Linked DNA regions of Homo sapiens: all the other regions are linked to region 7. The links are contacts of gene promoters, found by promoter capture Hi-C in blood cells and fetal thymus (Javierre and others, 2016). All regions are on one chromosome and are shown on one strand. Each heading gives the region's core, a stretch centred on a gene start or on the middle of the fragment in contact. The rest is flanking DNA. Distances are from core to core; before and after follow the strand shown.

Evidence for each region. The method cuts DNA at HindIII sites, captures the fragments that hold promoters and counts their contacts. A CHiCAGO score of 5 or more calls a contact.
Region 1: a fragment that was not itself captured here is called in contact with the fragment with the promoter of ACP6 in region 7 in 1 of 17 cell types (total CD4 T cells); the score reaches 5.6 in total CD4 T cells.
Region 2: a fragment that was not itself captured here is called in contact with the fragment with the promoter of ACP6 in region 7 in 8 of 17 cell types (total CD4 T cells, naive CD4 T cells, non-activated CD4 T cells and 5 more); the score reaches 14.3 in total CD4 T cells.
Region 3: a fragment that was not itself captured here is called in contact with the fragment with the promoter of ACP6 in region 7 in 11 of 17 cell types (naive CD8 T cells, fetal thymus, non-activated CD4 T cells and 8 more); the score reaches 13.4 in naive CD8 T cells.
Region 4: a fragment that was not itself captured here is called in contact with the fragment with the promoter of ACP6 in region 7 in 4 of 17 cell types (naive CD8 T cells, activated CD4 T cells, naive B cells and 1 more); the score reaches 7.1 in naive CD8 T cells.
Region 5: a contact is called between a fragment that was not itself captured here and the fragment with the promoter of ACP6 in region 7, in 12 of 17 cell types (M0 macrophages, endothelial precursors, M2 macrophages and 9 more). The highest score is 13.9, in M0 macrophages.
Region 6: a contact is called between a fragment that was not itself captured here and the fragment with the promoter of ACP6 in region 7, in 12 of 17 cell types (M0 macrophages, total CD4 T cells, endothelial precursors and 9 more). The highest score is 10.9, in M0 macrophages.

Annotation. Positions count from the first base shown.
Region 1 is chr1:147,813,231-147,815,930 of GRCh38, reverse strand. No RefSeq gene overlaps it. Among named protein-coding and RNA genes, the nearest start is that of GJA5, 54 kb to the right of the region's middle. The HindIII fragment of the contact is 4,107 bases long and covers 1-2,700 here.
Region 2 is chr1:147,527,787-147,530,486 of GRCh38, reverse strand. No RefSeq gene overlaps it. Among named protein-coding and RNA genes, the nearest start is that of LINC00624, 11 kb to the right of the region's middle. The HindIII fragment of the contact is 153 bases long and covers 1,278-1,430 here.
Region 3 is chr1:147,506,417-147,509,116 of GRCh38, reverse strand. All of the region lies in intron 3 of LINC00624 (long intergenic non-protein coding RNA 624), which reads left to right. Among named protein-coding and RNA genes, the nearest start is that of LINC00624, 10 kb to the left of the region's middle. The HindIII fragment of the contact is 5,017 bases long and covers 1-2,700 here.
Region 4 is chr1:147,466,161-147,468,860 of GRCh38, reverse strand. All of the region lies in intron 3 of LINC00624 (long intergenic non-protein coding RNA 624), which reads left to right. Among named protein-coding and RNA genes, the nearest start is that of LINC00624, 50 kb to the left of the region's middle. The HindIII fragment of the contact is 1,006 bases long and covers 803-1,808 here.
Region 5 is chr1:147,883,620-147,886,319 of GRCh38, reverse strand. No RefSeq gene overlaps it. Among named protein-coding and RNA genes, the nearest start is that of GJA8, 18 kb to the left of the region's middle. The HindIII fragment of the contact is 490 bases long and covers 1,197-1,686 here.
Region 6 is chr1:147,900,271-147,902,970 of GRCh38, reverse strand. GJA8 (gap junction protein alpha 8) reads right to left here and starts at 176. Exons shown (of 2, transcript NM_005267.5): 1 at 110-176. The HindIII fragment of the contact is 1,869 bases long and covers 435-2,303 here.
Region 7 is chr1:147,669,268-147,671,967 of GRCh38, reverse strand. It overlaps ACP6 (acid phosphatase 6, lysophosphatidic), which reads left to right and starts at 1,444. Exons shown (of 10, transcript NM_016361.5): 1 at 1,444-2,138. The coding sequence starts at 1,920. RefSeq lists enhancers at 982-1,051, 1,492-1,741, 2,382-2,441, 1,653-2,596. The HindIII fragment of the contact is 4,251 bases long and covers 971-2,700 here.

The DNA.
Region 1 (2,700 bases), core at 105-2,604, 140 kb before region 7:
TTGCCCTCTCTCACCCTCTCTTGCCCTTCTGCCTTCTGCCATGGGATAACTCTGCAAGAAGGTCCATGCCTGATGCTACCCTCTTGCTCTTGGACTTCTCAGCCTCAGAATTGTGAGAAAGAAGTTTCTGTTCCTTATAAATTACCCACAAATTGATATTCTGTTACAGCAGCACAAAATGAACTGAGACACCATTCTTTCTTTCTTCCCTTATGTCAGATGTGTCCTCAGGCTAGTTCCCCTCGTGGTCGGAAGATGGCTGCCATATCTCCCAAATACAGCACAATAATGGCCAGCAGAGGGAGAGACATTTATGTGATTGATGAACCCTTTTCCAGGGCTGGCTCCATGGGCAGAGACATGTGCAGTCACATAGGACCCTGTGCTCAGAAGACCCCTTTACTTGGCTTAGTACACTGCTCTCACCATCTTGAAATTATTCCTAATCTTATCTTTGAACTTTTGTTTGATAAGTGGAATCTGATGGGAAAACGGAGCAGGTCCACGAACAGAGAGAATATGTGTCTCTGCCCTTCTGTTACCCTATTTACATATAACATCTACAATGTCCCATGAGCACAGAATGTGTGGGAAGTTCAGCAAGACTCAAAGCAAGTACATGTTGTGGGGGGGAAATGTTTTTCTCTCTATCCTTCATAGTTTTTAGATAAGAAAGACTCCTGTAAAAAAAAAAAAAGACAGAATAATAAAAGAAAAAGAAACAGAAGTTTAGTAACATGTATACCTCATGTATATCTCTGGGAGATACCCAGAGAAATGAGTTAATCTCAGAACAGACTTAAATACCATTATCTGTTAAGACAAAGAAAGAAAGGTGTGGGAAAGGCTGGTTATGAGGAGATGCCCAGGAGAAGCATGGGAAACAAGGGTAAGATTGGTTATGCAGATTAAAGTCAGTGTCTTCTCCATTGATAAGTCTCTTGTTATTTAGTCAGCCTTCTCTTCCTTATACTGAGAGAAAGATGCCCTTACAAATGGAGGCTTATGGGTATAAATTTCCCTTACAAAAGGGTAACTTCTACTCTGTTTTCAGAATTTCTCCTGTGTCTGAAGTTTCTCAAAATAATCAGCTCAAAATAATCCTTATGCCAAAAAGGCATATTTGGGGGTAGATATTCTTTTCTGCCATAGTCATACTTTGGGGTGCATATTATGTTCCCCATAGTCATATTTTGGGGTAACATATTCTGGTCTCCTACAGTCACATGTTGGGGGGTGCATATGCTGGTTTCCCACAAGGGTTCCCCTTTGTTTTTCATTTATTTTCAGAGCATCTTTAGGACCAACTGCGCACACTTTGAGAAACACTTCTTCTTTGGAAGGTAGGTTTATCAAGACAGAATTTAGTGGGCGTATTTTTCTTTTCTAGATACTATGTCCAAAGTTGGGATAGGAGACACCAGAATAACAGAGAGGAATGTTCATGTTGGTGTGGGCCCACCTACCAGGCCTTCTTGGAGAGCTGAGTCTCAGAACAGTTAGTATGTGTTTCTGCTAAAGATCTTCTTTCTCTATTAAAATACAACTCTATTAGAATAACTGTACAACATTTTAGCTAATGTCCTAGTCAACTAGTCTAACATCTCCAATCCCACTCATTTTCAGAAGTTTTGATATCCCTCTTGCCCTCCACTCACAATTATTGAACTCTTTCCTGTGGCTCCTTCAGCTATTAATAATAAGTTTAGAAAGACAATAAAAATAAACAGATGATGATGGAATTTATGGCAAAGGGTCACTAATCTGACTTTCTTGCTGTACGGATAAGAAACTGAGTGTTCCAGAAAAGGAAGTGAGTTAAATAAGATTATACTGCAAGTTAGGAGCATATTCAGGCTAGAATTCAGATGCTTCATGTTCCTCTCTGGCTGGAGGTCTAACCTCCATGTGTCATTCTACATGGCTCCTTTCTCCAAACTCCTTCCTCCTACCAGCCTCAGACCTGAATTTCAAAACATCAGTTTAGTAAATACAAGTCAGTGCAATGTGACTTGGTTGAATTTCCTTAACTTCTGTTTTTCTTCATTCCTTTGACAATGTTTTAAACCTCAAAATCATCTCCACACCCTCTTTTTTGTTTCCTTTCTTTCATTCCTCCTCTGCACTTAGTCCTCCACCTCCTACTCTGTCATTTATAGCTGCCACTCTTCTTCTGTAACATTTCTTGGTGAAGCAGAATAATAATTAAAAATAAAAACTCAACTATTATCTTAGTAGCTGGCATCAGAATTCCTGTTAGGGAAGAAATAATCTGTTAAGAACACAGACTTTTTAATATTAAATTTTGATTTGTTTCCATTGCTTCTGGGTAAATCCTCCCTTCTTCATTTTTCTCAAAATGTCAGCAAAGGCCTTGTAAAATTGTAGTGTGTGTGTGTCTATGTATGTGTGTATAAGTAAATCAAGGAAAGGGACTGGGTTTCAAGGGACTGTCACTCAAGGGACTGGGTAAGAGGGCTACACGCACTGGAAGGTGAGATCACTAACAACAGAACTAATTCCAGAACCAGAGGAGGCCACAAAAAAGTAACTGCTCTGAGAGAATGCAGACATCTTGGGGAGGGCATTAAACTTTCCACAGGATGTGGAATGGAGATTCGAGCCAATCTTATCTGAATCTCAAGTGGCAGGGTGCCTGAAACTGACATTTGGGTTATGTTAGATTTTTATTTTATTTAT
Region 2 (2,700 bases), core at 105-2,604, 140 kb after region 7:
GAATTTTTAAACACTGGTTACTTTTGTAATCAGGAAAAAATATACTTAAAAATACCTAATATGGTTACTGGCACACAGTGAAGGTGGTGATAATGAGAAAGAGGAGGAGGAGGAGGATGACAGCTTACATTTGTTGACTTCTTCCTATGATCCAGATTTTGGCACAATGTACCAGGCACCTTACATGCTAGTTTAATTGAGGAGGCATTAGATAAATTATTATTGTTGTTATTATTCCTGTCACTATCAGGTGTTTCTTAGAGCCCCAGAGATAGGCTGGGGCTGTGTGGATCTGGGATGGAGCATGTCATCTCAAGTCTCTAGCCCAAGGGTTAGGAAGAAGTTGTTCCTAATACTTCCAGCCCTCCCTTGCAATTTCAGGTGGTCAGAATATGACTGGGTGGACCAGATGACTGCGGGCTTGAGTGACACAGAGTTCTAAATCTGGTTCCAGAATGTATTAGCTCTGTGGCCTTGCTGTAGTTCTTACGTTGTCACAGTTGGATATATTTATCCCATTTTCCCAATCCCACCTTGCCTAGCAGGGCAACAGGTATTCAAGACCACTGGGAAGGCCCTGCTGTCCCACTGGCAGGCCTCCCATAGCCTAAGAGCCTCTCATGAAACATTCATTTCCTTGGGTTAAAGCTCTGCCAGGGAGAGGTGACATATTAAGCCACTGACACCGTGGCAATTTAATTTCATGGAATCACAAGATGTTAGAGCTGGGAGTCACCTAGCATCTAAAGCCTCATTATTCTTGCATCTAAACCTATCTTTTCCTTTTTCCATCTACAGTGGGAGAGGTGTCCCTGCTCCTGTCTAAGCGAATCCTTCTCCTTGCACTGTGGATCCCACCTGCCATTATTCCCTCTCTTTCCCACACTGGCACCACTGCGCGCCTCTCTCCATCAGTATTTAAATAAGCTCATACACTCAGCTGTCTCTTAACTTCTCAGTCAAGCTTCTTTTTTTCTTTTTTTTTGAGACAGATTCTTGGTCTGTCGCCCAGGCTGGAGTGCAGTGGTGCAATGTCGGCTCACTGCAACCTCCCCCTCCTGATTCAAGTGGTTCTCCTGCCTCAACCTCCCAAGTAGCTGCGACTACAGGTGCCCGCCACCATGCCCAGCTAATTTTTTTGTATTTTTAGTAGAGATGAGGTTTCACCATGTTGGCCAGGCTGCTCTTGGACTCCTGACCTTATGATCTACCCGCCTCGGCCTCCCAAAGTGCTGGGGTTACAGGCATAAGCCACCACGTCCGGCCTCAGTCAAGCTTCTCTGAGATTTGCCTGTAAACTTTGAGGGGCAAATGGGAGAGCTCTGGGTATTTAGGACAAGCCTATGTTTAGGGGAGCCTGGGTCGCTTGGAGGAGGAAGAGTGAGTGACACAGAAGTTGGTTGAGAAATGAAGGAGGGAAAGTGGAAGCTTCCTGTGGACAATCTACTGTCTTCCTAATTTTACCTAAAACCAATACTAAGTTTTCACAACAATTAATAAATTATATTGGGTTTGGGTACCTGCTCTGAGTATGCTAGCTAAGTCCTGTGGGAGATACAGCCCAGTACCTACAACATAACTGCCTTTGATATGTTCACAGCTGCATCTGGATACTCAGTTACAGTATCAGCACAGGGCAGTGCATGATTAAGGCTAAACGAATGGTACAGGTTAGTGGTTCCCAAACAAGAAGCATCAGCAAGAGTCATTTGGGAACTTGTTAGCAAGGTAAATTCTCAGGCCGTGGCCCAGACCTACTGAATCAGAAACTCTGAGAGTCCTGGAAACCTGTGTTTTCAAATGCCCCCTGAGTGATTCTGATGCATGCTAGGGTTTGAGAACTGCTGGTACAGGCAATAAGAACCACTGTAGGCTGGAGTTTCAGGTCAGACTTATAGGGCATTTGGCACTTAAATTTGATTCTGATCAGTGGAGTAGAGCAAAGGGTAGAGAGTGATCAAGAAAGAGTAAACCAGATGAACAAATGTATAGATATTGGGTTGCATAAGCTAGAGAAAAGGTGGAGGGAGGGTGCTGAGTGGGGCAGAAAGAGGAGCGGCCTGGCCTGGTTGACGTGGAGATGCCTGCAGAGGATGATGGTGAGGGCAGGAAGCCTTGACTACTAGCTATCATCTGGGGAAATAGAAACCTCTTCTGTGTCTCTCCATAGAGAAGGCTCCACCTACCACATCTAAGTTCTTTCTTTCCTTTACCTTCACAGGCATTCTCTTCCAGTCTCTCATCTCCAGAGGTGAGGATCACCCCTCTCCTTTGACGTTCACAGCTCTGATCCAGGATGGCATTTCTTTTCCTGCCTCCCCCGTCAGTACTTCCTCCTTCTTCCTCTGAATCCACCCCCTCACTACTGCTGCAGATGAAAAATTATAAACCACTCTTGAAAAACTGTTCCTAGAGAGGATACACGATTTGAACAAGTTCCTATTCAAAGCGTCAGGGGAGCGACACCTGCCTCTTAAATTCTGACAGCGTATACCAGGGATTCATTAGGCAGGAACAGAGGATGGTTTTTGGAGTGGGCTTTCTACTGTGCCTCTACAGTTAAGTTACACAGGGACCTTGCAGAAGGCTCAATGTGTTATGATTGGAAGCAGCTCTCTGTGGGAAATCCCTTCCAAAGCCCAGAGGAATCCTTTAAGGTGGTGCAGACTTGTTTCCCAGTGGGATCTTCTCTGAAGACAG
Region 3 (2,700 bases), core at 52-2,551, 160 kb after region 7:
CCCAAATATCCCTGGTGATGATTAAAAAAAAAAATCACTGAGATTATCCCCGATTTGGGCCTCTAAACTCAGGGATGGTTCTGGATAAGCAACCCTGTATCCAAGTGTGTCTTAGGTGATGCTGGTTGAGAATGGGACACCCATTCTCTGGGAGCCAGCCAGAGAAGTTACCCTGCTGTTGGAGAGACGGGCTATCACTGAGGAAACAGTGCATCACCAGGGAGGATCGAATTCATGCTCCTCCTCCCCCAACAACTCTCATACCCTCACAGATACTCCTTGTTTCTCCTTGTCTCCCTTTTCTCATACCCACATCAGCTTCCCTCACTCAGTAATCAACTCATTGAGGGTTTGCTTTAAAAATGTATCAACATCGTAATCTTCTCCAAATTAGCTTCTCTATGGCCAGGAGAACCTTAGGTTAGGATGTCCTTCTCTCGTAAAGTTTCTGTAGCAAGTGAAAGCAAGAGGGACCATTGGGGTGGTAGGGCAAGACACTAATCCTCAGTGAAAAGTCTAATCCTCAGTCACTAAGTGTCCTGGCAGATTAGAGGGTAAAGTGAGTGGGGAGAATCAGCTTAAAGAACCAAATTGGATTGGGCCAGAGCAGAGGTATAGGTATGGAAGAGTGGTTTTGTCAGTAGCTGCTGATTGAGCCAAGTTCAGCATGGAACTGACAGAGATGATATGGAAGACAACTTACCTAAGTAGCTCCTGGGTCAGAAAGAAGCCTCAAAGTGAGAGAACCTGGGGGGAATCTCAGCTGGAGTCCCCTTATGGGACTTTGATACATCAAGATCTCTTGGCTATTGAGGAGATAGTGGGTCCAGAAAGGGGATGAAGAATCTGGAAAAGTGTGGGAGATCAACCATGCATAATTCTTTTTATCACTATGGAGTTTGTTCTAGAATTTTACAGTTTACAAAGTATAATCACACATATTATCTCATAATTTCCACAGTTACCTAATGTTACTGAGAAGTAGTTTTAGCTAACTCTATTTTATAATTCATTCATTTGCTCAACATATTTTGAGAGCCTTTTATGCACAAGGCACTGTGCTGGATACTGGAGATACTACAATAGACAAGACTATATCAACAGTTGAAAAGTAATTGCCATTGACAGGATTATGCTTCGGTAAGGGTAGCTGGGCACAGCCAGCAGGAAGATCTGAGGTGGTCTAGGCAAGTATTTTCAAAAGAAGTGACATTTAAGATGAGACCTAGTAAATAAAGATGAGCTTAGGTGAGGGGTAAGAGATGGAAGCATGTTACAGCTAGAGGTACAATTTATTGCAGACCCAGACACGAGAAGGTCAGAGAAAATCAGAGAAAGCAAGCAAGTGAATTTGCCTTACTCTAGGACCCACACTTTGGTGATCACAGCTGGATGAAGAATGTCAGGGGATGAATCGGAAGAAATGAAACTGGAAAGAGGAAGGAACCAAGTCTTGAAGGGTCTTGGAAGCCATGTTAAGAAGGATGAATGAGAGGTAAAGAAGACGACATTGAGCTTTCTCACTTGGGCAGTTGGCGGATGGCAGTTGGTGGATGGCAGTGGGTGGATGACTTTACTGAGGTAGGAAGCCTGAGAGGAAAAGCAGGTTTTGAGGGAGAGTTGACTAATGCAGTTTAAGACATGTCATGTCGGAAACATCATGTATCACACTGTCCAGTAAGTAGTTGAAGACAAAGATCTGGATCTCAGGAGAGGAGCATGGGCTGAAGATGGCAATATGGAACTATTGCTACATGGTTGGTTATTAAAGACAAAGAAGTAGCTGAGATTGCCAGGGAGAGTAGACAGAGGAGAAACAGGCCCAGGATAGAGCTCCAAGGAACTTCAAAAGTAAAAAGAAGAGAAGGAGAACCCATAAAGGAGTTGAAGAAGCATGTTGTTCTGTTGAGAGAGTATATTCTGGCCATATGTCTCTGGGCAAGTTAGGTCACCTCTCTGAGCCATGGTCTTTTCATCTCTAACAAGGACAGTAATAGCACCTACCTTACGGAGCAGTACCTAGAAAGTTTATCGCAATTCTGGCACATAGTAAGCATCAATTAAGGTTAGCTCATGTTTTAGTAAGAAGAATGATAACAATGAAAAAAAACAAGTAGAGTACTCAGAAGAACATGAGATGAAGTTGATGGCATGAGGGAAGAGTGTTGAGACAAGAAAAAACTGGTCAATAAGGACAAATGGGCCAGGTGAAGTGGGTCACGCCTGTAATCCCAGCACTTTGGGAGACTTGAGATGGCAGGATCTCTTGAGCCCAGGAGTTCAAGGCCAGCCTGGGCAACAAAGTGAGACCTTGTCTCTGCAAAAAATAAATACATAAATAAAGACAAATGTACTGAGGTCAAAATAAAAAGGCTGAAAACAGTCTATTGGATTTGGCTGTAGGTAGGACATTGATGACCTTTGCAAGGTATGTTTCAGGAGCATGGTCTGAGATGAGAAGACCTGGAGATAGTAATTTTGGGAGAAATGGATTTTCAGACGAGTTCGGTAGTTAGGCTGAGGACACACAGCCAGTGAACTCTGTTGTCACATAGTGACCCGAACTCAGATTGTCAGACTCCAAATTTTGTTTTCTTTCCACCTATAGGACCCAAGGAAGATAATTTAACAAATAAACCTAACTCCATGATTTCTGCTTAGTTAACTGAGGAGAGGAAGGAATGAAAAAAATAAAAATAG
Region 4 (2,700 bases), core at 56-2,555, 200 kb after region 7:
ACCAGGGTCTCCAGCCACCTCCTACAGGCACTTTTGGGCTGGCAACAGGCCCATACCTTCCTGGGATGGAGCTTCCAGAGGGAGGGGCAGGCTACTGTCTTTGCTGTATTGCAGCCTTTACTGATGATATCTCCACTTACTGGAAAATTCAAGGCAACTAGGAACTGCAGAGGGACCCCAGCATACCACAGCAGCCCTATGGAAAACTGGCCAGAACAAATGGGTGCCTATTCCCACATCTCCTCACTGGGCAGGTTCTCCAGGGCTTCCAGCCACCCACTGCCAGAGCTATTGAGCCAGTAGCAACTCAGCAACTCCCTGGACAGAGCCTCCAGGGGCAACTGAAAGCTTCCCTGCCACTGCCTCTGCAGTAGAACTGCCCTTGCTGCCCTCAGACTAATGAAGGAACAAAGGCTTTAAGTGCTTTATCCATACCTCCAACAGGCTGCAGTCAGTTTAAGAAGAGGAGGTCAGTCCATCTTCCATCTTTCGGGTGGAGCCCTCAGGAGACAAGCAAAAGACCCTTGGTCAAAACCACTACTAAGGTCCCTTCCTCTGCTGCCTCTGAGATGGGGAAGAATCATAAATGCTGAGATCATCCCAGAGCTACAGTGGGCAGTCCAGGAGTGACAAGCCGTGATCTACAGTCAGCACTTAAGGGGGAGAGGAAGCCACGTTCCCAGAGGATTGAGAGGAAATATAGCTGCCACTGTGGGGAACCATAGGGGAGCTACACAACTGAGTGAGTCTACCAACTGACCCGTAAGCCTAAATGCCACCTACTGGATCACACCACAAAGCTTCAACTTAAAAAAATGCCTCACTAACATACCCCCCTGTGAAACCAGAGACAAGAAATCAGCTTCAGATAGAGACCCTGCACAAGGCCTCAGCCAGGTGAAAACATCCAGAAGTCTATTGACTGTAATCAATCTATACTACAGTTAAAGGAACACCCATATGCAGAAATGAGAAAGAACGAATGCAAGAACTCTGGTAACTCAAATGACCAGAGTTTTGTATGGCCTCAAAATGACTGTACCAGTTCTCCAATAAGAACTGGCTGGGATAACAAATAAAATTTAGAATATGGATAGGAATGAAGATCATTGAGATTCAGGAGAACAGCGAAACCCAATCCAAGGAAAATAAGAATCACAATAAAGCAATATAGGAGCTGAAGGACGAAGTAGGTGGTATAAAAAAGAACCTAACAGGTCTGACAGAGCTGATCAACACAATGCAATAATTTCACAATGCAGTCACAAGTATTAACAGCAGAATAAACCAAACTGAAGAAAGAATCTCAGAATTTGAAGACTAGTTCTCTGAAGTAAGACAGACAAAAATAAAGAAAAAGGAATAAAAATGAAAGAACAAACCCTCTAAGAAGTATGGGATTACGTAAAGAGGCCAGATCTACACAAATCATTGGCATCCCTGAAAAGGAGAGGGAGAAAGCAAATAACTTGGAAAACATTTCAGGATATCATTCACGAAAACTTCCCCAACCTTGCTAGAGAGGCCAATAGTCAGATTCAGGAAATACAGAGAATTTCTGCAAGACTCTATACAAGATTATCTCGAAGACACATAATTGTCAGATTTTCCAAGATTAAAATGCCAGAAAGAATGTTAAAGGCAGCTAGAGAGAAAGGGCAAGTTACCAACAAAGAGAACACTATCAGGCTAACAGTAGATCTTTCAGCTAAAGCCCTGTAAGCCAGACAAGATTGGGGAGCCTATATTCAACATTTTTAAAGAAAAAAATCTTCAACCAAAAATTTCATGTCTAGCCAAACTAAGCTTCCTAAGCAAAGGAGAAATATCCTTTTCAGATAAGCATATGTTGAAAAAGTTCATTACCACCAGACCTGCATTACAAGAGATTTTGAAAGGAGCATTTAACATAGGAAGGAAAGATTGCTACCAACTAATACAAAAACAGTCTTAAACACATAGACCAACGTCACTGTAAAGCAACCACACAAACAAGTCAACACAATAACCAGCTAACAACACAATGACAGGATCAGATTCACATCTGTCAGTAATAACCTTCAATGTAAATGAGCTAACCGCCCCCACTTAAAAGGCACAGAGTGGCAACCTGGATAAAAAAGCAAAACCCAATGGTATGCTGTCTTCAAGAGACACATTTCACACGAAATGACACCCATAGGCTCAAAATTGAAGGATGGAGGAAATCATTTGCTTAGTAAGGTTGTAATTTGATTACTAAGGTTGTAATTTGATTAAAGGTTGTAATCCTAATTTCAGGCAAAACAGACTTCAAATCAACAAAGATGAAAAAAAGACAAGGACATTACATAATGGTAAAGGGTTCAATTCAACGAGAAGATCTAACTATTCTAAATACATATGCACCCAACACAGGAGCACCTGGATTCATAAAGGAAGTTCTTAGAGACCTACGAAGAGACATAGACTTCAACACAGTATCAGTGGGAGACTTCAACACTCCACTGACAGTATTAGACAGATCATTGAGTGTATTGACTGTAATAGGCAGAAAATTAACAAACACATTCAAGACCTGAACTCAACATTGGACCAGATGGATCTGACCTCTATACAACTCTCCACCCCAAAACAAGAGAATATACATTCTTCTCATTGCCACATGGCACATACTCTAAAATTGACCACTTACTTGGACATAGAACAATCCTCAGCAAA
Region 5 (2,700 bases), core at 192-2,691, 210 kb before region 7:
ATATACATCATTTCACTTCATCATTATTAAAGCCCTATAAAGTAACTCTTTTATTCCTGTTTTACAGATTTGGGAATGCAGTTAAATATATTATTCACTTGCTCAAGGTCATAATGCTAAGAAGTGGTAGAATCAAGATTTATATCCAGGCCCAAATTTGAAGTTTATAACTTGCATTTTTTCCATTACATGGTACGTGTCTTTTGGTTAGAGTTAGAGACAGCAGCTGGACTTCAAGAGTTTGGTAACATTACTTACTTTCTCTTACTAAAGAAATGGGGTTGGGGGGAGGAAAGAGTCTACAACTGAGCTTTAAATTGGGGATTAGTGGAAGCATATTTTATAACATTTTAAGTTCAATGTCTTTTATTGGGTTGGCCTTGAAATGAAAGTCTAGGAAATAAGATGTCTGCTCTGAGATGGGGGTGGAAGATCCTGTACTTTCACATGCCTGTTAAAATTAGAGATGAAATATAATCAGTTGATGGAGGGCTTGGATAAAATAAACTGAGACACATAACTGGCAAATATGAAAGTGCATGAAAGGGACCAAGACCCAGAAGATCGTAGAGAAAAGAGACGCATATCTCATTGCCAAGCTGGAGTTATTTCTGTTTAGAGACACCAAAGTTCTCCCTAAAACTTTTCCCTTAGTCTTGGTAATGTGAAACTCTGGGGGGGTCATTCCTACAAATTCTGCCCCCTTTGTGATCCCCTGTATAATTAGATCCATCCTTTTTAAGGAAGAGGACCTGGCAGATATGTTTCATGGTTTATACGTAATCCAGTTCCTTTCATGCTTCCTGCTGTAAACTTTTGCCTGTACATTGTATTTTTGAGACCCTACTGCAATCATTCCCAGGGTCGGAATGATCACAACCAGCTGACCAGACCAGTTAGCTGCTGTTTGGTTAACTGTTCAAGTAGATTGGAAGAAGAGGCAGTGAAAGAACTGGGCAGTGAGAGCAAGGTAAGGACATTGAGAAGATGCATGCCCAGGGATTTTGGTCTTCCGTCTTCCTTTAACTTGTATTGTCCACATGAGATTGTATTAGTGAGGGTTCTCCAGAGAAACAGAACCAATCTGATATATATATAGGCATATAAGAGATTTGTTATGGGATTTGGCTCACGTGATTATGGAGGCCAAGAAGTCCCACAATATGCCATCTGCAAGCTGGAGAACCAGGAAAGCTTGTGATGCGATTCAGTTCAAGTCTGAAGGCCTGAGAACCAGGGGAATCGATGGTGTAACTCCTGGTTCAAAGCTGAGAGCTGGTGGGATGGGGAGTTGGTGGGGAAGGCACTGGAGTAAATCCTGAAGTCTGTAGGCCTGCGAACTAGGAGCTCCAATTTCTGAGAGCAGGAGAAGATGGGTATCCCAGCTCAAGAAGAGAGAGAGAATTTACCCTTTCTCCTGCTTTTTGTTCTATTTGGGCCTTTAATAGATTAGAAGATGCTCACCCATACTGGGGGAAATGAATCTTCTTTACTCAGCATATTGATTTAAATTATAATCTTTTGCTACAACATCCTAATAGACACACCTGAAAATAATGTTTTATCAGTTAAATGGGCATCCCTTAGCACAATCAAGTTGACATATAAAATTAACCATTACAGAGATCAATCTTGGATAGGCTTCTCCTCTGGGTCCTCTCTAGCTGCCTTGTAAAATGCTAAGCTTCCAACTGTATGATTTTTCTTGTTATCACTTCTTCTATTCTTGGAAATTTAAAAAGCACTGGTCTCAGAGGGATTGTTCTCCCCTGCCCCACACCATGTTAGTTTTAAGTTTAATGATTTTCATAGTGTCCTTAAACTAACTGGTCTATTTTTCTATTGGCATAGTCAAATGGAGTTCACGTTTATACCTGCTTAAGAGTTAATTAGTTTAGTTTAAGAATCGACTTTATGTGGTTCTAGCTTTAACTCAAGAATGACTGAAATAATAACCACAATAACAGTAACACTGAATAGAATCAATGAAAGAAAATCATACTGCAGGAGGGGATGGTGGTTGTTTCATTTGTATTATTTGTTTTAACACATTCATTTGTTGCTGCCACAAAGATATAAAACCCATCATTCTTGACCTGTTCAACACTCAAACGTGTTTACAATGAAGATGATCACTATGGTCTCTTGAAAAACATGAAAAAAGAAAAACAGTTAATGATCCTCTTGTTTGGTTGGGATGGTACCATTTGGTCCATACCTCTATTATGGACTTTATTAAATTGCATGGTAGTTATTGGTTAACCTGGCTGGCTTCTCCAATAAAATGCAAGTTCCTTGAGGGCATATTAATTAAAATTCATATTAATAAAATTTTGCTGTTCTTTGATTAAATATTATCCAAAAGTCATAATAAATAAAGAATGAGGGGTCAAATTAATTAGGTTAATAAAATAACTGGGGCTGGCCAGCACAGCTAGCCAGCAGGGAACTCCCATCTAAATTCATTACCACCTGGCTATGTTTTGGCAACTCCTGATAGTAGTTGTCTGCTCTAGCCTAAATATTGATGGGGATGCTTCTGGGTCCTGTTGTTGGGATTTCCAGGGAAAGAGCAGTGATTCCAAACATCTCCTGGTTAGTGGTACCCACTTGGCCCAATTCAAGTAGATAGGTCCAGAAAAACATTAGGGATGCTGGGACTTACCCTCCACTTCGCTGCTTCCAAAGACAAATTTACCA
Region 6 (2,700 bases), core at 120-2,619, 230 kb before region 7:
TTGGCAACCTTTTTCCTTTTGGAGAAGCCTATATATGGCCCTTAGATTAGGCTGAGAAAGAACAATTGGGGGGAAGGTTACAAACTAATATCACCCAAGGAAAACTTGCCAATACAAGGAGTGTCCCACGGAGAAATATGTGCTCTTTCTCTCTTGGCGCTCAGCAGCAAAATGGCAACTTTCGTCTCTTTCCTTTGCTGCCTAAAAGCCCACCTCCCACTTCTCTACCCCGCCCCTACTGTGCTGCACGACTGAGCAGATATGACTGGATTGGCCCTGATGGGTAGGTTTTACTGTCCAGCAATATTTTAAGCTCCCAGCCAGACAGCTTTTATGAAGGGAGGGATGTTTGGGAAACAATGGGAGTGAGAGAATGGGAGAGCTGTGTTGGGCACTGAGGGGAGGAGGATGGGGAAAGCTGATGTGTGAAAGCTTAGCTGGGGCTTCTGTGCCTCCCAAAGTTTCTTTTAGCAGCAGACTGGGCCTGTACATCAGTAAACCTTTGGCGTCTCTCCAGAGCGCATGAGCCTAGGGGCATTTTCCCAAGGCCTTATCATCAGCTGGGAGAATCTTAATGATGTAGGGACAGTAAGTGGTCAGTTGTGTGAATCCCTCTGCCCTGAGTCACACCAAGAGTGGTTGGTCCTTTCCAAAGGACCATATTTCATTTTTTATTGGTGGTTTGCTCTTGTCTCTCAAAGCCTTCAGCAGAATTGTGGATATTAGAGGCTGGGAAGTGTAGTGGCGGAAGGAAGGATGGGGAGCATGTTGCTAATAGATACAAAAGCACAGCTAGATAGGGGGAATGGGTTCTGGTGGTCTGCAGTGCTGTAGGGTGAATATGGTTAACATTAATTAATTAATTATTTTAATTTTTATATTTTTGTGTGTGTGTGAGACAGAGTCTCGCTCTGCCACCCAGGCTGGAGTGCAATGTCACGATCTTAGCTCACTGCAACCTCTGCCTCTCAGGTTCAAGTTATTCTCCTGCCTCAGCCTCCTGAGTAGCTGGGATAACAGACACCCACAACCACGCCCAGCTAATTTTTTTTTTTCTATTTTTAGTAGAGACGGGGTTTCACCATGTTGGCCAGGCTGGCCTCAGACTCCTGACCTCAGGCGATCTGCCCGCCTTGGCCTCCCCAAATGCTGGGATTACAAGCATGAGCGACCATGCCTGGCCGTTAACTATTTTATTGTATAGTCTCAAAAAGCTAGAGGAGAGGATTTTGATTGTTCCCAACAGAAAGAAATGATAAATGTTTGAGATGCTGAATATGCTAATTATCCTGATTTGATCATTACACATTGTATACATGTATTGAAATATCACTGTGTATCACAAATACGTACAATTATTATGTGTCAACTAAACATAAAAGGAAAGAGCTTTCTAAAAAGATCAAAACAATAAAAAAGAAACACAAACAAACCTTCAGCAGGGTGGTCTCCCTCTTTGAAAGGAGCCTTAACACTCCAAAGAATTCTGGTGCCATTTGTCAAAGTAATAGCCTTTCTCACCACGTTTCACTTATAATTACATATACTTTTGAGTAGCGGAAGTTCAATCAATGTCAGCTAACATTTTTAGACTTTAGTGCCTTCATCTGTTAAATGGGGATATGATGGTTTTGCTCACCAGGAGGCTCTTGGATTAAATTCTAATGTGGCTTAATGAGGAATGATGCTTGGAGGGCATGGACATATGCTCTCTGAGGCCCACTCCCGTCCCATCATCTGGGACTGACTATTGGTAGTATAAAAAATGGTTATTTTGACTACATTTCCAAACCAAAAATAGGGGCATTTTATCCTACAAGTTTATTCGTGAAAACAATGGAGCAAAAATAGTTGAAACTTAGATTGTTTTATGAAATCTGCAATGTATGATTACTAAATTGAAGACAACTTGGAGGGCAAACTAGACAAAAAAAATCTAAGCACTGGCTTCACCACCCCACCCCCCCTTCCTGTCCTTTCTGGTGTCATGGACATATTGCATTTTGATGGGGGCAGTTTGAAGGAGGATGGTACCAATGTTGTGTGAGTCCCCAATTCCATTTTAAATAAAATGGTCACTAGCCCAAAACCTTGTTTACTTTAGATGTCTGATTTCTTTTGAACTCCCAAGTTTGAGGGCCCACACTGACTGGGACAATGCCCTATAGCAAATCCTTCAGTTAAAAATAGATGGTCAAGGCTGATCCCTGCAATATCAATAAGGTAAGAAGTCAGAGGATGAGGGGAAAAAATCCAATCATTCTTTCTTTGGGAATATTCAGTACATGCTGATTCCTGAAGCTTGCGCTCTCCCTGATATAGTCCTATGAAGAGAAAAGAATCTACAAAGCTTCTCTTTAAAATGAAGTTCTCCCTATCCAAGGCTTCCCAGTCCAACTTGGCTAATGTAGTGGGTGGTGTCATCGCTCATCATCATTTTGTGAGAGATGGTAGTAGAGGATGCATTTGAATCCAGAAAAACGGGGCTGTCAACAAGGCTCTGAACCAGTTATAGTCTCTCGGATTTAGACAAATCTAGCTTTTCAATTTAGCACTTTCTTTGTTTTCTTACGCTGTTAACAAAGAAGATACTCCTCTACTCGTAGTACCCAATTGATTAAGTTATCTTTGTTATTGGTTCTTCTGTTTGTAGCTGGGAAGTCCTTGAAAATATAAACACTCAGTCGTGTATATCTTGGG
Region 7 (2,700 bases), core at 195-2,694:
GAATGCAGCCCAGTAGGTCTCAGCCTCATTTTACCCAGCCGCTATTCAAGATGGAGTCACTATGGTTCAAATGCCTCTGACAGAATCACCTTCTAAAAGTCCTATGTCCAAATGCAGTCACTTAGTGGGTACGAATTTGGCGGGGGACACAACTGAGTCCATAGCAAACAGTATTCGATTTTTAATCACATCAGCACACACAATAAGACTCTGAAAAGTGAGTCCCTTGGCTGGGCTAGGGAGAAAATTGTGACAATATGTAGTGTTCCAAAATGACCCTCCTCCCTGCATCAGGGAGGGGAGCACTCAGAACCTTCCAGCTTGGTGAACAGAATTTGTTCTCAGGCCAGGAGCCATGCTCTGTAAGTATGTTGTCTTTACATCTGGCCCAGTTTGATCTTTGGAGATAGACACATAGTGGGTCCCAGATTGTGTCCTGTTGCAAAGATCTGGAAACACAGGCTTGGGATACCTGTATATCAACAGAAACCAGACTAGCAGGTGGTAAGGCTGGCATTGTTCTGTGTTCTTAGGTTTTTTTTTGTTTTTTTTTTGTAGACGGAGTCTTGCGCTGTTGCCCAAGCTGGAGTCGTGTGGCGCGATCTCGGCTCACTGCAAGCTCCGCCTCCCGGGTTCACGCCATTCTCCTGCCTCAGCCTCCTGAGTAGCTGGGACTACAGGTGCCCGCCACCACGCCTGGCTAATTTTTTTTTTTTTTTTTTTTTGTATTTTTAGTAGAGACGTGGTTTCACCGTGTTAGCCAGGATGGTCTCGATCTCCTGACCTCATGATCTACCCGCCTCGGCCTCCCAAAGTGCTGGGATTACAGGCGTGAGCCATGGCGCCTCTTAGGTTCTTAATCACTGGGACACCCACAGGCAAGGCCTGGCTTTTTCCACAAGAAGTATTCTGGATGGAAGTAAACACATCAGTGACCTGAAAGTTCTACATGATTACAATGACTTAAGCTTGAGAATTTTTTTAAAAACAGAGAAGGGAGTAGTAAATGACTAAATATAAAGCACCTAGTGCTGTGTTTCGCAAATGGCAATCACTCGGCAGGTGTCTCAGCTCCTCGCTGCAGCAACCAGGCTTCCAGGACTGGAAGGAAGTCTTCTACATTCAAAACTAGACTCAAACTACTCCCCTCCACCACCCAGTTCTACTCCTGCGCTCGCGATCCTCCTGCCTGGCAAACTCCATGGCCCGACAGATTCACTACCACTCCACTGCCGGACCAGGCACGTCCGTGGGCCATCCACGCCTGGAAAACGGCTGGCTGGGCCGGAGGGGCGAGGCCCGCAGGCGAGGGGGGCGGGTACAAGCCACTTCTTGGGAGCCGCGGTACGCGCAGCCTTGTGGGAGTTGTAGTTTCCGCAGCTCTGAGTCTCCAGGCGAGGTGTCACCACAGGACTCGTTTTCCCGTGCTCCTGTGCGCGGGTCCACTTGGGACGGGTCCCTGAGTAGGTGAGGAGGTGGGTAGGAGCTTGCTTATAGAAAAGTGGAATCGAGTAGTCCTTGCTGGTGGAGCCGCTGCCGCCAGGGAACTCAGGGCCGGCTCCTGTTCCTTCAAGAGTGCTGGAGGCCAAACTTGAAATACAAGTTTAATGTTCCTCGTCGGGCAAAAGATAAGGATCCGATCTCCCCCGGCCCGGTGTGCAGCAGGAGCGACCAACCCCGACCCGGGTTAAAACTCCCAGGGACTCTTCGCTGCTGCCACCTCTTGTTCTCTCCCCCGTTCCCACTCGGGGTCTCCCTCAGGGCCGGGAGGCACAGCGGTCCCTGCTTGCTGAAGGGCTGGATGTACGCATCCGCAGGTTCCCGCGGACTTGGGGGCGCCCGCTGAGCCCCGGCGCCCGCAGAAGACTTGTGTTTGCCTCCTGCAGCCTCAACCCGGAGGGCAGCGAGGGCCTACCACCATGATCACTGGTGTGTTCAGCATGCGCTTGTGGACCCCAGTGGGCGTCCTGACCTCGCTGGCGTACTGCCTGCACCAGCGGCGGGTGGCCCTGGCCGAGCTGCAGGAGGCCGATGGCCAGTGTCCGGTCGACCGCAGCCTGCTGAAGTTGAAAATGGTGCAGGTCGTGTTTCGACACGGGGCTCGGAGTCCTCTCAAGCCGCTCCCGCTGGAGGAGCAGGTGAGAGGTCGGCCCGGGCTGGGGCTGGTGGGGCGAGGACCGTGTGCCAGGCCAGGAGTCTCGCCCTGACACACATCTTCAGAGCTTTACTCGCGCGGAGCGGGGCTCGGGTTGGGTCCAGAAGAAGGGAAAACAGCAGTAGCCAGTGACTCCCCAGGCTCTTGAGCAAAGGACCTGCTGGGGTTAGGACAGCCCCGGAACTTCCAGTTTTGCCCTGATGGCGCAGCCATCAGTAAGCGCTGCTTAAGACGCATGGGAGTCGCCTGGGGATCCTGCTACGTTGCAGATTCTGATTCAGCAGGTGTGGAGTAGTGCCCCAGGTCAGCATTTCTATTAAGGGTCTAGGTGAACTTGAATACAAGGGTGCAGTGCACTTCTGTGTGACCATTTTGAAGGTGGTTTGTCAGAGCTGAAGGGCTGAAGGGACTTTAGTGATAGGAACCACTCTTAACTGAGATTACAGTGGATAAGAGGTCGTTGCCTTTGGAAACAAACTTTATAACTGCTTTTTCTCAGGGTTTGCTGGAGGCCATTTGAGATCTCCTGAAGTTTTTTTTTGTAA